3 separate regions of the Homo sapiens genome follow, and regions 1 and 2 are each linked to region 3. Evidence: promoter capture Hi-C in 16 types of primary human blood cells and fetal thymus (Javierre and others, 2016). All regions are on one chromosome and are shown on one strand. Each heading gives the region's core, a stretch centred on a gene start or on the middle of the fragment in contact. The rest is flanking DNA. Distances are from core to core; before and after follow the strand shown. Region 1 overlaps ERCC4 (ERCC excision repair 4, endonuclease catalytic subunit). Region 2 overlaps MRTFB (myocardin related transcription factor B). Region 3 holds the start of PARN (poly(A)-specific ribonuclease).

Evidence for each region. The method cuts DNA at HindIII sites, captures the fragments that hold promoters and counts their contacts. A CHiCAGO score of 5 or more calls a contact.
Region 1: a contact is called between a fragment that was not itself captured here and the fragment with the promoter of PARN in region 3, in 1 of 17 cell types (M0 macrophages). The highest score is 6.1, in M0 macrophages.
Region 2: a contact is called between a fragment that was not itself captured here and the fragment with the promoter of PARN in region 3, in 3 of 17 cell types (fetal thymus, non-activated CD4 T cells and naive B cells). The highest score is 6.7, in fetal thymus.

Annotation. Positions count from the first base shown.
Region 1 is chr16:13,939,630-13,944,239 of GRCh38, reverse strand. The region is part of intron 9 of ERCC4 (ERCC excision repair 4, endonuclease catalytic subunit); the gene reads right to left. Among named protein-coding and RNA genes, the nearest start is that of ERCC4, 22 kb to the right of the region's middle. The HindIII fragment of the contact is 1,658 bases long and covers 2,116-3,773 here.
Region 2 is chr16:14,072,499-14,077,131 of GRCh38, reverse strand. The region is part of intron 1 of MRTFB (myocardin related transcription factor B); the gene reads right to left. Among named protein-coding and RNA genes, the nearest start is that of MRTFB, 3.5 kb to the right of the region's middle. The HindIII fragment of the contact is 5,305 bases long and covers 1-4,027 here.
Region 3 is chr16:14,627,836-14,632,267 of GRCh38, reverse strand. It overlaps PARN (poly(A)-specific ribonuclease), which reads left to right and starts at 2,008. Exons shown (of 24, transcript NM_002582.4): 1 at 2,008-2,161; 2 at 2,594-2,671; 3 at 4,017-4,096. The coding sequence starts at 2,143. RefSeq lists enhancers at 1,472-1,994, 1,995-2,516, 2,517-3,040. The HindIII fragment of the contact is 4,468 bases long and covers 1-4,089 here.

The sequences.
Region 1 (4,610 bases), core at 1,695-4,194, 690 kb after region 3:
GAGGTCCCATTAAACACCCTGAGTTTTAAAGGAAAATCAAGATCAAGATTTTGAAATAGATATAAGAAATCAAATTTCTATCAGAGATTAAAACAAAAAATCAACAGCTCAGGTTATGCCTTGGGAGCAGCATTCATTACTCACTCATGCATTTATTGAAAAACATTTATGGAGTGTTCCTGCGTGGTGCTCTAGGTACTTTGGATATAATCGTGATCACGCAAGAATTCCTGTCTTCAAGGTGGCTCATATCTTATACGGTAGATCTAGAGGACAGTACAATCATAACTAAGATTCGCAATTTGGAACTACATCATGACAAGATCCTCAATAATCACAGAAAGAGTAAGCCAGGTTTGCGGTAGCTTTATTTTTCAAAATTGATAAAGTATGTTATAATTAATTCTGCCAGGTATGACAGAAAAGATATATAAGCTGAGTCTCTTCCCTGCTTGGGTTCACAACTGATGTCGAGGGAACAAAGCAAACATGAGAAGAAAAAAAAAAACAACTGGAACTGAGGAACTGCGATAAAACAGACTAAGGTGAGGGGAACAGAAGAGGAACCATCAATGTTAATTAATTTCAACAAGGGTTAAAACAACCAAGATTTTCCCATTGATATGGTCTGGCTGGGTCCCCACGCAAATCTCATCTTGAATTAATAGTTCCGATAATCCCCATGTGTCCTGGAAGGGACCTGGTGGGAAGTGATTGAGTCATGGGGGTGGTTTCCCCCATGTTATTCTCATGATAGTGAGTGAGTTCTCACGAGATCTGATGGTTTTAGAAGTGTCTGGCATTTGTCCTGCTGGCACTCATTCTCTCTCCTGCTGCCATGTGAAGAAGGACAAGTTTGCTTCCCCTTCTGCCATGATTGTAAGTTTCCCAAGGCCTCCCCAGCCATGTGAAACTTGTGAATCAACTAAACCTCTTTTCTTTATAAATTACCAAGTCTGGGGTATTTCTTCATAGCAATATGAAAATGGACTAATACACCCATTAGAGGAAATGAAATCAGAGGGTTCAATTCTTCAACCACTCTGGATAAATATTTTAGAGCAGGGTATCACTAGAAGATACTACTAAAGAACAGAAATTGTAATTTAAAATTTTATACTATTTGAAACAACCTATAAATGCAAATATATTATTAGTACAAATTTTATAAGTAGATCACAAGGGGGCAGACAATGGTTTCAGTTCCATGTTTTTCTCATTATTCTCAATACCAGACTCAAGCGCTACCTGCTGAAAAGCCCTCTGCAATGGCAATGGCTCTGGCTGCCACTCATTACCACTCCATTCTCTCTATTGCACTCTGGTTAGGACAAAGGGCAGACCATTCAAAAAAATTACTGCTCTTCTATTTTTCCTTAACATTCATTTGGTATTATTATGTTGTGTCCCCCACTTTGTTTCTACTTGTTACACTGGCTAAGCTGTATATCACACATGGGATCATCCCAATTTCCTGATTAATTTGTAGTCTGTATAATCTTAGGGGGTTAGAGTACAGATTCCGGTTCCAAAGTGTGTGGATCTGAAACCATTTACTGGCCACGTGACCTTAGGCAAGTCATTTCATGGCTCTGTACTTCAACTTCTTTATTGGTAAAATGAGGATAATAATTTAAAAACTTACCTCAAAAGACTGTTATGAGGATTACATAACATATGCAAGGCGCTCAGAACAGTGCCTGGCACCTAGTAAGCACTATATAAATGTTAGGTGTTATTATTACTGTACTTTTCTTATAACGTGGTAATCTCTTCGTCTAATTATCCATGATTATACTAAAAAACTGAAGATTTGCTTTCAAATAATTCCACAATTGTTTCCATTAATAGCTACAGAAAACAGCTAGTTTACCACTAAATGTTATAACTTAACTACAAGTCGAATGTGAGAAAAAATATATTCGAGATGAAACCTGGACTATGAAGAAAATAAGCCTTCCTAAGCAGTAATTCAGTTTAACAGAAATGTATCGTAATTATAAACAGCCAGTCTCTTGCTTTCAACATGTGGCATAATTATCCAAGTTCCCCTATGTGACAGACACAAAACAATTAAAAAATTCAGATTCCTATTTCTGCTTAAAGCACCAAGCTTTCCTATGTTTGCTTTAGTATCTTCAATGGTATTTTTATTAAAATTTATTTTATTTTAATTTTTAAACAAATTGAGATGGATTCTCACATGTTGCCCATGGTGGTCTTGAGCTCCTGGGCTCAAGTGATCCTCTCGCCTTGGCCTTCCAAGGTGCTGGGATTACAGGCGTGAGCCACTGCACCCAGTCTTCAATGTTATTTGAATACCGTGTACAACATAATCCTATGGCAACATAGGAAAGTAGCACTGAACTAGAAGTCTCTTCCAATGGGCATTTACTTAAGCCCTCATGCTAGCCCATTTTGTGATCGTATTTTCAAAAAGTAAAATTTCAAATAATCTTACCCTTTCCTTTGAAAAGCAGTGACCTCCTCAAAGCTATGTATACTGAGGATGTTATTACTAAGTTTTCTACCCAGGGAGCATTTTACGTCCCTGGGTAGAAATAAAATTATTATGATATTTAGCAGTGTAATCTTTTCCACTTTATCTGTTATCTATAATCTACAGATCTTTAATCCAGCTAAACAATCCTTTCACTGTCAGTTCACCTGATTTGTTCCTTTCTGGTTAAAGAGCCACAACTGCTTTTGTTCTTACAACATCACCCATGGAGGTCTTGGTAAAAGCACATTGTCTCATCTTCATATTAAATTTTTCTCTTAAGTACACAGTGCAAATGTTTTTTGAACAATGCACCTCAAATATGTTTTTGCTTTGCAAAAGAAGCACCTCTCAAATTTCCCAAGTTTCCTGGGAAAGTAAGTATCTTAAGATTCTTAACAGTGCAACTATCTGATTGACTGCTGGGTAAAATGGGAAGATCTTATTTATGACAAGTAGACAATCATCATTGAAAGCATTAAAAATTATGCCAGATAACAGATAAAATTATGTTAAAACCTGGTGCAGAAATTTTTCTATGGATTGAAATGTGGGAGAGAGTCCATGATCCAGGTTCTGCTGAGTGAGGTTTTCCAGTATGTATAAGGCTAATCCACATCTTGTCACTGAGTCCTTTGATGTGTAGAAGCAGGTGCATAAATCAGGAATGGCATGGGATCTGGTACCTTACTACTATCTACTAAAAGTGCTCTTTTCTAGATTAGATTCCCTGATGCACTGGAGAAGAGGCAGCTGCATGAAGACAGGCGAAGCAAGAAACTCACCTACTCAGGTGCTGTCTTCCTCCCATTCTATCAGGCTCCTCTGGCTCTAACGCTGTGCAGGAAAGGATTAACTCAGCAGGCCTGGGCTGCTCAAACTCTGCATGTTTCCAAGAAAGGCTTCTCTCCTCAACACTGGCTCTTGGTCAGCTCCTGGGAGATGAGCTCTGAGCCCCTGGAGTATTCTCCCTGATAAGGTTTTTATATGCCTGAGGCCTTGGGTCACAATGTGCCAGCTGGATCAGATAGTTTATGCTGACGATGTGATTTATCGTAAATGTCTGTTGCTGCTTTGGGGGCTGGAGTCTGAGGAGCTGTAGCCAGCCATGGAGGTACTCTGTGTCTATGTGACTCAGCTCAGTAAAAATGTGGGGACTCAAGGCTCAGGTGAGTTTCCCTGTTGACAACACTTTGCATGTGTGGTCACACACTGTTGCTGGGAGGACTCAGCACATCCATGTGACTCCACTGGGAGAGGACACCTGGAAGCTTAGGCCTGGTTTTACCTGGACTTTGCCCCATGTGCCTTTTCCCTTTGCTGATTTTAATCTTTTTTTTCTTTTTTTTTTTTGAGACGGGGGTCACTCGGTTGCCCAGGCTGGAGTGCAGTGGCACGATCTAAGCTCACTGCAACCTCCACCTCCTGGGGTTTGAGTGATTCTCCCACCTTAGCCTCCCGGGTAGCTGGGATTACAGGCATGCGCCACCACTCCTGGCTAATTTTTGCATTTTTAGTAGAGGCAGGGTTTCACCATGTTGGCCAGGCTGGTCGTGAACTCCTGACTTCAAGTGATCTGCCCGCCTTGGCCTCCCAAAAGTGCTGGGATTACAGGCGTGAGCCACTGCATCCAGTCTTAATCTGTATCCTTTTGCTGGAAGAAACTGTATTGTGAGTATAACACCTTTTCTGACTCATGTGAGTTCTAGTGAATCATCGAGCCTGAGGATGATCTTGGGGAACCCTGACATGAACACTGAAAACCCAATCTGAGTATTTTAGCTCTGTGCACTCATTTCTATCTAGGTGACAATTATTTTAATGAGCGAAAACTTGGGCAAAGGCTGTTCTAAAAAGAGTGAAGGAATGGTCAGGAGGTACTGGCCCACATCCAGTATCACCAATTCTTTGATTCTATCTCCCAAATCTCTCTCAAATCTGTCTTCTTTCCTCCATTAACCTAATCTTGGCTACCACCTTCTCCCATCAGACTGCACTAGCATTCTGACTGGTTTCCACCCTCACTCACTCCTCAGCTTGATGCCAGAGAAAGCCTTTACAAACATACCTAAGTCCCTTTCCTACTTAGAATGCTTCAGTGCGGTCTTAC
Region 2 (4,633 bases), core at 126-2,625, 550 kb after region 3:
AAAATGTAAAGAAAGCCATATTTAAGCCTTCTTTATACCAAAATACATGAAAGTCATTTTTAAAAACAAGTGACAAGTTGAGGGAAACTGCAACCTAACAAAGGGCTAATCTCTCTAATTTATACACTTATAGAAATTAGTAAGAAAAAGCAATCCAAAAGAAAAATGTGCAAAGGGTATGAACAGATAGCTCACAGAAAAAGGAATACAAATAGCCTTTAGGCACATGAAAAGATGCTCACCCCGATTCATAATGAAAGCAATGCATATTAAAACTACATGGAGTTATCATTTTTCATCTACGAGACTGACACGAATCCAAAGGTTAACTGTTGGAGAGGTTACGGAGAAATAAGGAGTCTCATACATTACTTAGGCAAGTTCAAAATAAGTGCCACTCTGGAGGAAGAAAGTATTTACACCAATTATAAATGCATTGCCCACTGACCAGCAATCCCACCTCTAGGAATGTATCCCACAGATAATGCCTACAAATATACAAAATAATATGTGCACAAGGTTATTCAGCACAGCGTCATTTGTGAGTCTCAGACTGGAAACAACTCATATATTGATCACTGGAGGCTAAACAGCTAAACAATGTATATTTTACAGTTGTTTAGAAAAATGTTTTCTGGGCCAGGTGCAGTAGCTCATGCCTGTAATCCCAGCCCTTTGGGAGGCCGATGCAGGTGGATAACCTGAGGTCAGGAGTTTGAGACCAGCCTGGCTAACATGGAGAAACGCCATCTCTACTAAAAATACAAAAATTATCCGGGCCTGGTGGCACATGCACCTGTAGTCCCAAGCTACTTGGGAGGCTGAGGCAGGAGAATCGCTTGAACCTGAGAGATGGAGGTTACAGTGAGCTGAGATGGTGCCACTGCACTCCAGCCTGGGTGACAGAGTGAGATTCTGTCTCAAAAAAAAGAAAAGAAGTGTAGAAAAATGTTTCCTATATACTAATATGAAGGTATGTCAAGATAATATTAACTTTAAAAAAAAAGCAAGGAAAATATTCACATAGTATGTATATTTTATATAAAAAGAGTATATATAGTATATTAGTATTTGCTTGTATCTGCATCTATACAAAAAAAAGACATGTATAGGAAACAAATGAAAGGTTATTTATGGAGAGAATCAAGACAATTGGAATTTAGATTTCTCAAAATATGTCTTATGTCATTTTAATTTTTGAACCATATGAACATCTTATCTACATGAAAACAATTTGTAAATGTTAAAAGCACCTCGCAAAAAGAAGCAAAAGAGAACCACCTACAAACCAGAGTCTAAGTTTTCTCTGAAATTGGTGACAAGCAATTTTAGTGTGGCCATCACCATAAATTATAAGACAAAGTGCTTTTGTTTCCTCCAATCGAGCCAAAGTATATGATTATAATAATCTATTTTAAAAAGCCGGGGTGAGGAATTAGAAGAGAGAACAGAAAAAGGTGAGAAGAGAAGGAGCTCTACTCTAATGGTTCTCAAAGTATGGTCCTTGGACCAGCAGCATCAGCATCACCTGATAATTTGTTAACAATGTAAATTCTATGGGCCCAGCCCAGACCTACTGAATCAGAGAGAGACCCTGGAGGAGGAGGCTAGCAATCCTTTTAATACATACTCAAGTTTGACAGCCACAGATCTGGTCCCGTGATTTTTATATGTTCACGTGCATTGCCCAGGAAGGGATCTTTTAAAATGCAAATTCTGGTCCAGTTGGTCTGGAGTGGAGCTCAGAGTCTACATTTCAAACAAGCTCCAGGATGCTGCTGACGTGCTGATGGTGTGGGCACCACACTTTAAGACGCAAAGCACAAGTCCACCTGAGGAAGAAGGTACGCAAAGGGTCTTCACGTGATTGAGTTTGCTGTGAAACCTGCACTCAATATTAGACAGAAAAAGTCCTTACACAGGTCTCCAGCTAAGGTATACCACGGAACTAGCTTCCCATATAAACTGTGTACTTCACACAGAGTAAGTATGTTTTCAAATATATTTCTTAAACAACAATAACAACTATAATTCACTGAGATCCAATTTAAGGACGTCCCATTTGAGAAAACTTTCATTTATAAGTGGATCTTCCAGAATGGAAACAAACAAAAAACACAAAAAACCATATTCATACAACTGTCTGGTTATATTATCTGATTAACTTTACCTCAAACACACTAACCACACCATCTGCTCTTCGTGAAAATTCACCAAGCAGTTTGTTTCCTTTTAAACATTTTCAAAAAAATGGTTCTTATATTTACAAACATTGATTCTCCATTTGTTTTACATAAAGGGAAAATCTCTACAGGAATCTTCTTAGTAAAGAATTCTAGTTTAAATGGAAGGGTCCAGAAATATTGTGTATCTTCATTTTGCAAGTCACCCTTTGAATCAAGTTTTTGGTGTTAATCATTAATCATTGTTTCATATTCCCTATTCATGTAGTAAAATTATGTAATAATTTTTACATATTCCCTATTTCATTGACTCTAAGATGCCATCAATTTCAAGATATAATGTCCTACTAAGAAAGAAAAGTTGCCAACCACATGCTAATTTTAAGATGTCATTCTATCTCACATATGCATCTTAAAAATCAATGAAACACCTTAATTACAAATCAGAGATATGTGCATAGTATTCATTTTCTAGTTAACATTTGTGTCTCTCAAATGTAAAACTTCATAAAAGCATGAACTTTTGTCCATTCAACAATCTATCCCCTATGCCTAGAAAAATGGAACATTTTCAATCAACATCTTTTACATACAGGTGAATATTTTTTAAAGTTCTGATTTTAAAAACCAGTAATGACCTCTTTTACCCTGGAACAAGATACTGCTTGCTCAAATTAATATAAATTCATTACTCTCAATTTGGATAAATTTCCATCTCCAAAGTGTTCAATGTCTCTAACTCTAGATAATTTAAAGTATAGCCTTCTGTTTTGACAGCAGTCATTACCTACATGTCTGTTTCCATAGCACCTTTCAAACGTAACACGCAACTAATAATAAACACCTTACATCAAGAAGCAACTCGTCTATTCAACAAAAAAAAGCCAAATAAACTATTATTAAAAGAAGAGTTAAATGTATAATGTTACAATGTAGGTAACATTGTAACATATATAAATGTTATACGTAGGTAACATATAAATGGTCTGAGCTGAACTTTCTTAACTCGATTTGCATTTTCCCCTATGCAGCAAGACTAGCAAAGTTTGAAATGAAAAGACAACTGCTAACAAATCACACCATGAGGACTACTGGCATATGTGATTACAGGTAATTTTAAGTTTTACCTTTGAATACATCTGCATTTTCCAAATTCTCTAATATAGATATTAGTAAGCAGAAGAAGCTATTTAAAGGGTGATTACACTAGTTTAGATTATACTTAACTAAGACTTATTTCTACACATTATTGTTGTTGCTTCCCAACTCCATTCTAACCTCAATCTGCTACTTGATTCAAGTGTTTAGTTGTCAACATTTCCATTAAACACAGCCAATCTTTCAGACAGAGGGACACAGGTACTAACCTGACCTCCCATCTGAGATTCTAGAATAATCAATGAAAGCGCCACTAACCAAAAGCATGCTTTTTGTACGTCAGACACTTCTGAAAGAAAGAAAAAACAAAACAGGACAAAACTCTCAGCAAAAACTGTCTGTTAAATTTCCTTTTATAATTCCTATTATAATTGACTAGATAACACTGATGTTTGGAGTGGTTCTCCAAGGAGCTGGAACTGCCCCCAAGGAACATTTTTAGTTATCAAAGAGACTGGGGGACACCGCTGGCATTTAGGGTTTGGGGGGCCTGGATCTAAAAGACTTCACACAACACATAGGTGGGACAGATCTGTATAATGAAGATTCGCCTGGTACGAGAGTCTTTCAAATGAACGGGCAGATTAAGCCCACTATAAACTGGCATTACTTTACAATATTTAAAAGTTTTTATAAGAAATTGCAGGGAAACTCCAGTAATGTAGGAGAAAGTAGCAAGGGAAGCTTAAATAGAGTAAGGGAAAACTGTCTAAACATTAGCGATCGTTTCCTCACACCACACACCGTTAACATACAATTGTAGTATCAGAATACTGAGCATATACAAACAAGTGAGATACTGATATTGAACCAAAAATTTTCAACCTTGTTAATATTTTATTAATTATTACCAATGGTAATTGTTAGGAAGCCAGTATTGTCCCTTCGAGTGTGTGACACAAAAAATTCTACAATATAGTTTAAAAATATGGATCCATGGAGGGCTTGTGCTAATATTTACGTATTTATTGAGACAGTCTGTTATTTGTCTTGCCATGTTATCCCTAGTTCAATCTAGGTTGTTTCTCTCTTTAATTCGCAAGAAACAGGTTATGCCAACCTAGGTGTTTTTCCCAACCTCCGTCTGTATCTCTGCTCTTTCCCTGAAGTAGCGGCCTCACTCTGTAGCCCAGGCTGGAGGGCAGTGGTGCAATCACAGCTCACTGCAGCCTTTAACTCCTGGGCTCAAGAGATCCCCTCACCTCAGCCTCCCAAGCAGCTGAGACTACAGGTGTGCGCCACCACACCACGCTAATTTTTTCTTTTTTTGTACAGGTGGGATCTCGCTATAT
Region 3 (4,432 bases), core at 759-3,258:
TTTGTTTTTGAGACAGAGTCTCACTCTCACCCGCCAGGCTGGCGTACAGTGGCACGATCTTGGCTCACTGCAACCTCCGCCTCCCGGGTTCAAGCGATTATCCCACCTCAGCCTCGTGAATAGTTGGGACTACGGGCGTGCACAACCACGCCTGGCTCATTTTAAAATTTCATTTTATTTTTATGGAGACAGGGTCTCGCTCTTTTCCCCAGGCTGGTCTGGAACTCCTGGGTTCAGGCGATTCTCCTGCCTCAGCCCCCGAAAACGCTGGGATTACAGGTGTGAGTCATGGCGCCAGGCCCCCATTAAACAGTTATTTATACAGATTTATTAATACGCTGCTTCCCAGTTCACATTCATTAGCACCACTGAGCCTCAATACAATCCCAGGAAATTGAGGTTTAGGAAGGTTTAATGCATTCCAGAACTAATAAGTGGCTGAGATAGATTTTGAAAATAGGTCTTCTAATCAACTTTCCTTTTGTTCGTTTGTTTGTTTTGGAGACGGAGTCTCGCTCTGTCGCCCAGGTTGGAGTGCAGTGGCACAATCTTGGCTCACTGCAACCTCCGCCTCCCGGGTTCAAGCAGTTCTCCTGCCTCAGCCTCCCGAGTAGCTGGGACTACAGGGGTGCGCCACCACGCCAGGCTAATTCTTTGTATTTTAGTAGAGATGGGGTTTCACCGTGTTGCCCAGGCTGGTCTCGAGCTCCTGGCCTCAAGCAATCCGCCTGCCTCGGCCTCCCAAAGTGCCAGGATCACAGGCGTGAGCCATCGCATCCGGCACTAACCAACTTTTCATAGTTGGCTTTTGTGAAAGACCAACCTGAATGTATTCATTCAACCCATGCTTATTGAGTGTCTACTACGTGTCAGCCCAGTGCTAGGCATTGGAGAACAGCAACCCCAAACCAACATACAATTCCATTAGGGCCGGGCCTCATATGTTGCACTCGACATAGTATTCCCAGAGGCTAATGCAGTAGCTAAGGGTCTCAGCTTTGCTTTCCGTGATCACCTAAGTAACAACCCCTATTATTCTTTTAATTTAATTTAATTTTTTTTTTGAAAACAAGTCTCGTTCTGTCACCCAGGCTGGAGTGCAGTGGCGTGATCTCGGTTCACAGCAACCTCCGCCTCCCAGGTTCAAGAGATTCTCCTGCCTCAGCTTCCCGAATAGCTGGGATTACAGGCGCGCACCACTGCACCCGGCTAATTTTTTGTATTTTTAATAGAGACAGGGTTTCACCATGTTGGCCAGGCTGCTCTTGAACTTCTGACCTCAGGTAATCCGCCCGCTTCTGCCTCCCAAATCGCTAGGATTACAGGCATGAGTCACCAAGCCCAGCCAATTTTTATATTTTTAGTAGAGACAGGGTTTCACTATGTTGGCCAGGCTGGTCTCGAACTCCTGATCTCGTGATCCGCCCGCCTCGGCCTTCCAAAGTGCTGGGATTACAGGCATAAGCCACCGGGTCCGGCCTAATTTTATTTTTTTAAGAGACAGGTCTCACTATGCTGTCCAGGCTGGTCTCGAACTCTTCAGTTCAACGGATCCTCCCGCCTCGGGTTCCCAAAGTGTTAGGCTTACAGGCGTGAGCCACCGCACCCGGATCCCATTATTCTCTATTACATCGCCCCGCTCTTTTTCTTAATAGCGATTTTCATGTGTTACCAAATGGCAAGTTTCACTCCTGCCTGAATTTCCCCTTACCCCAAGTTTAAGCTACAATGGGGCAGGGAGCACGTCTTCCTGTTCATCACTGTATCTCCACCCCTGTAAGAGTGGCTAGCATATCACAGAAACCCAGTCAGTATTTCCTGGTCGACTGGATGTCGAGACATGCACATTTTTTCTACTGAAGTGAAAGCCCGCACAAATTAGGCCACGCCTTGGGGACTTCGATAGCCACGCCCCTCCCCTGTCCCTATAAGGAGGGAAAGGAGCCCAGCCTTGGCCCCGCCCCCGCCGCCGCGCAGGCGCTGACGCAAGCGCAGCAGGCGCGCGCTGTTTCCGGAAGTCGCGGCCGGCGTCACCGCTGCGGCTGCCTCAGCTACTGCCGCAGTCGCCGCGGAATTCGGCGAGTAGAACCGCTGAGGCGGGCGCGGGCCCGGGTGGGGCCAAGGTTCCGGCCACTCTGCAGAATGGAGATAATCAGGAGCAGTGCGTGTCCGCCGTACACCTCCCCGCCTCCCCACACCCGGCTGCCCCTGGCCTGCTAGGCCGAGACCATGGCCGGCGTGTTTGGCTGGGCCTGGGGCTGAGGCAGCCCCTCAGGGCTTTTCCCTCCTTAAGCCGGTGCGCCTCTTGGGGTCTTTTCCGGCTGCGGACCGTGCACCCTAGGAGCCTTGTACTTACTCCTCCAACCCCGGCACCATCCGGGGCCTTGTCCTTCTCCGGGCCGGGCACCCCCCGGGGCTTGTCCCCCCTGACCCATGCACCCCTCGAGGACTTGATTCCCCTCGCCCCGGTGCACACCTCCGGGACTTTTCCCCTTCCGGCTCTCAGCCTCGGGAGCTCCTCGGCCCTCCTTCCCTCTCCCCTTAGCAGGAATTCAGGCCACTGGTTCTGAGCCTCTTTTCGGTTTCTCCGCAGATTTTAAGAGTAATCTTCACAAAGTGTACCAGGCCATAGAGGAGGCCGACTTCTTCGCCATCGATGGGGAGTTTTCAGGTATCCCTCCCTTGCAAGCTCAGGCTAGCACTTTGCAGTGCATAGCCAAGGCTCCTTCAATCCCCCAGCCCCCAACTTCTTATGCTTGGTGGTGGCCTCTTGCTGTTAGTAGCCTTGGGCGGGTTTCACAGGTCTCAGTGTTACCCTTTAAACGTTTCAAAAGCACGAAAGAAATGAAGATACGCCGTAGGTTTGTGATTGGACTCAGGATCTCAGATAGAGATGATGGTTTTGATGCTGCTTAAAACAGTGCGGCGTGTACATTGCAGAGAGCTTGAGGATTAGGGTCAGACTGTTTTTTTTCTTGATTGTAAAATAGGTATAACATGAAATTTGCCATTTTAAGTGGCTTTACAGTTAAGTGGCATTAAGTACATTCACATTGCTGTGCAAACATCACCATCCATCTCTAGGACTTCTTCATCTTCACAGTCTGAAACTCTTTACACATTAAACTCCCCATTTCTCCTTTCGCCCAGCCTTTAGCAACCGCCATTTGTCTCTGAATTTGACTGCCCTTAACATCTCATATAAGTGGAATCTTACAATATTTGCCCTTTTGTGACCGGCTAGGGTCAGGTTTTTGCAGATAAATGAGATATTTCTTTATGCATTAGTGGACGTGTTCATTGCCTGCCTCAACAGGTGTGTATACAGGAAATACTTCACTGACACTTAAAGTTGCAAATTTTTTTTCCCCTTTTTTAGGGGGAGCAAAGACTAGTTTTTAAATTGCTGATGTCAATATGAACGGTTCACTCCCTTTGATATGGATATCCATTTTTGCTGTCTGATTTTCCATGTTTGAATCATGAAGGAATCCATGCAGGGGTAAATAGTATCCTTGGCTTTAGGTAGTGTCTAGTTGGAATCACTTCCCTAGGAAGCTAAGAGTTTTCACTTAGAGAAATAATTTTCTCTTAATCTTGAAGATACATTCTTTGCATAGATATTAACCACTCCAAACTCTTGACCAAGACTGGAACTCTGGCAATAATATACTTAGGGATTTATTGATGTCTGTTTATACAGGAATCTTTTAAAGCAGCAAAACTTATTCAAGCATAGAGATTGTTTTCTTACATGATTACTGTGTTTTAAGTCATGTTTTAGACGCTGGAACTGCCTATTCTCATGTTGAAACATTCGCATCTCTAAGTTCATTATTAGAGGGTTTAACCTGGTGGCCACTGAAATTAATGCTTATTTTAAAAAAGTAAGTTAGGGAGTGCTTCCAAGTAACCTTAATTCGTGATACGACATTATAGAGGCACTGAATGATTGACTGGCATTTTTACGTTAGTATTTATTAGTAAGCTAAAAATTTTTATTTCTTAAAATCTAGGAATCAGTGATGGACCTTCAGTCTCTGCATTAACAAATGGTTTTGACACTCCAGAAGAGAGGTATCAGAAGCTTAAAAAGGCAAGTGGATGTGCTAGGAAATCTTTTTCTTTCTCATGTTAGTCTTCCTTATGTTAAATGATAAATATTGTTACTAAACTTGTGCATTAAGGTTTTGTAAGTGCAGTATTTTCTCCTCAAACCTAGCCATGAAGTGATTTTTTTTTTTGTTTTGTCTTGTTTTAGAGACAAGGTCTCGCTCTGTCACCCAGGCTGGGGTGCAGTGGCGTGATCACTGCTCTGTGGAGCCTTGAACTCCTGGCTCAACTGATTCTCCTGCCACAGCCTCCCAAGTAGTTGGGACTACAGGCGCAAGCCACTGTGCCCAGCCAATTATTATTATTTTTTTTAATTTTT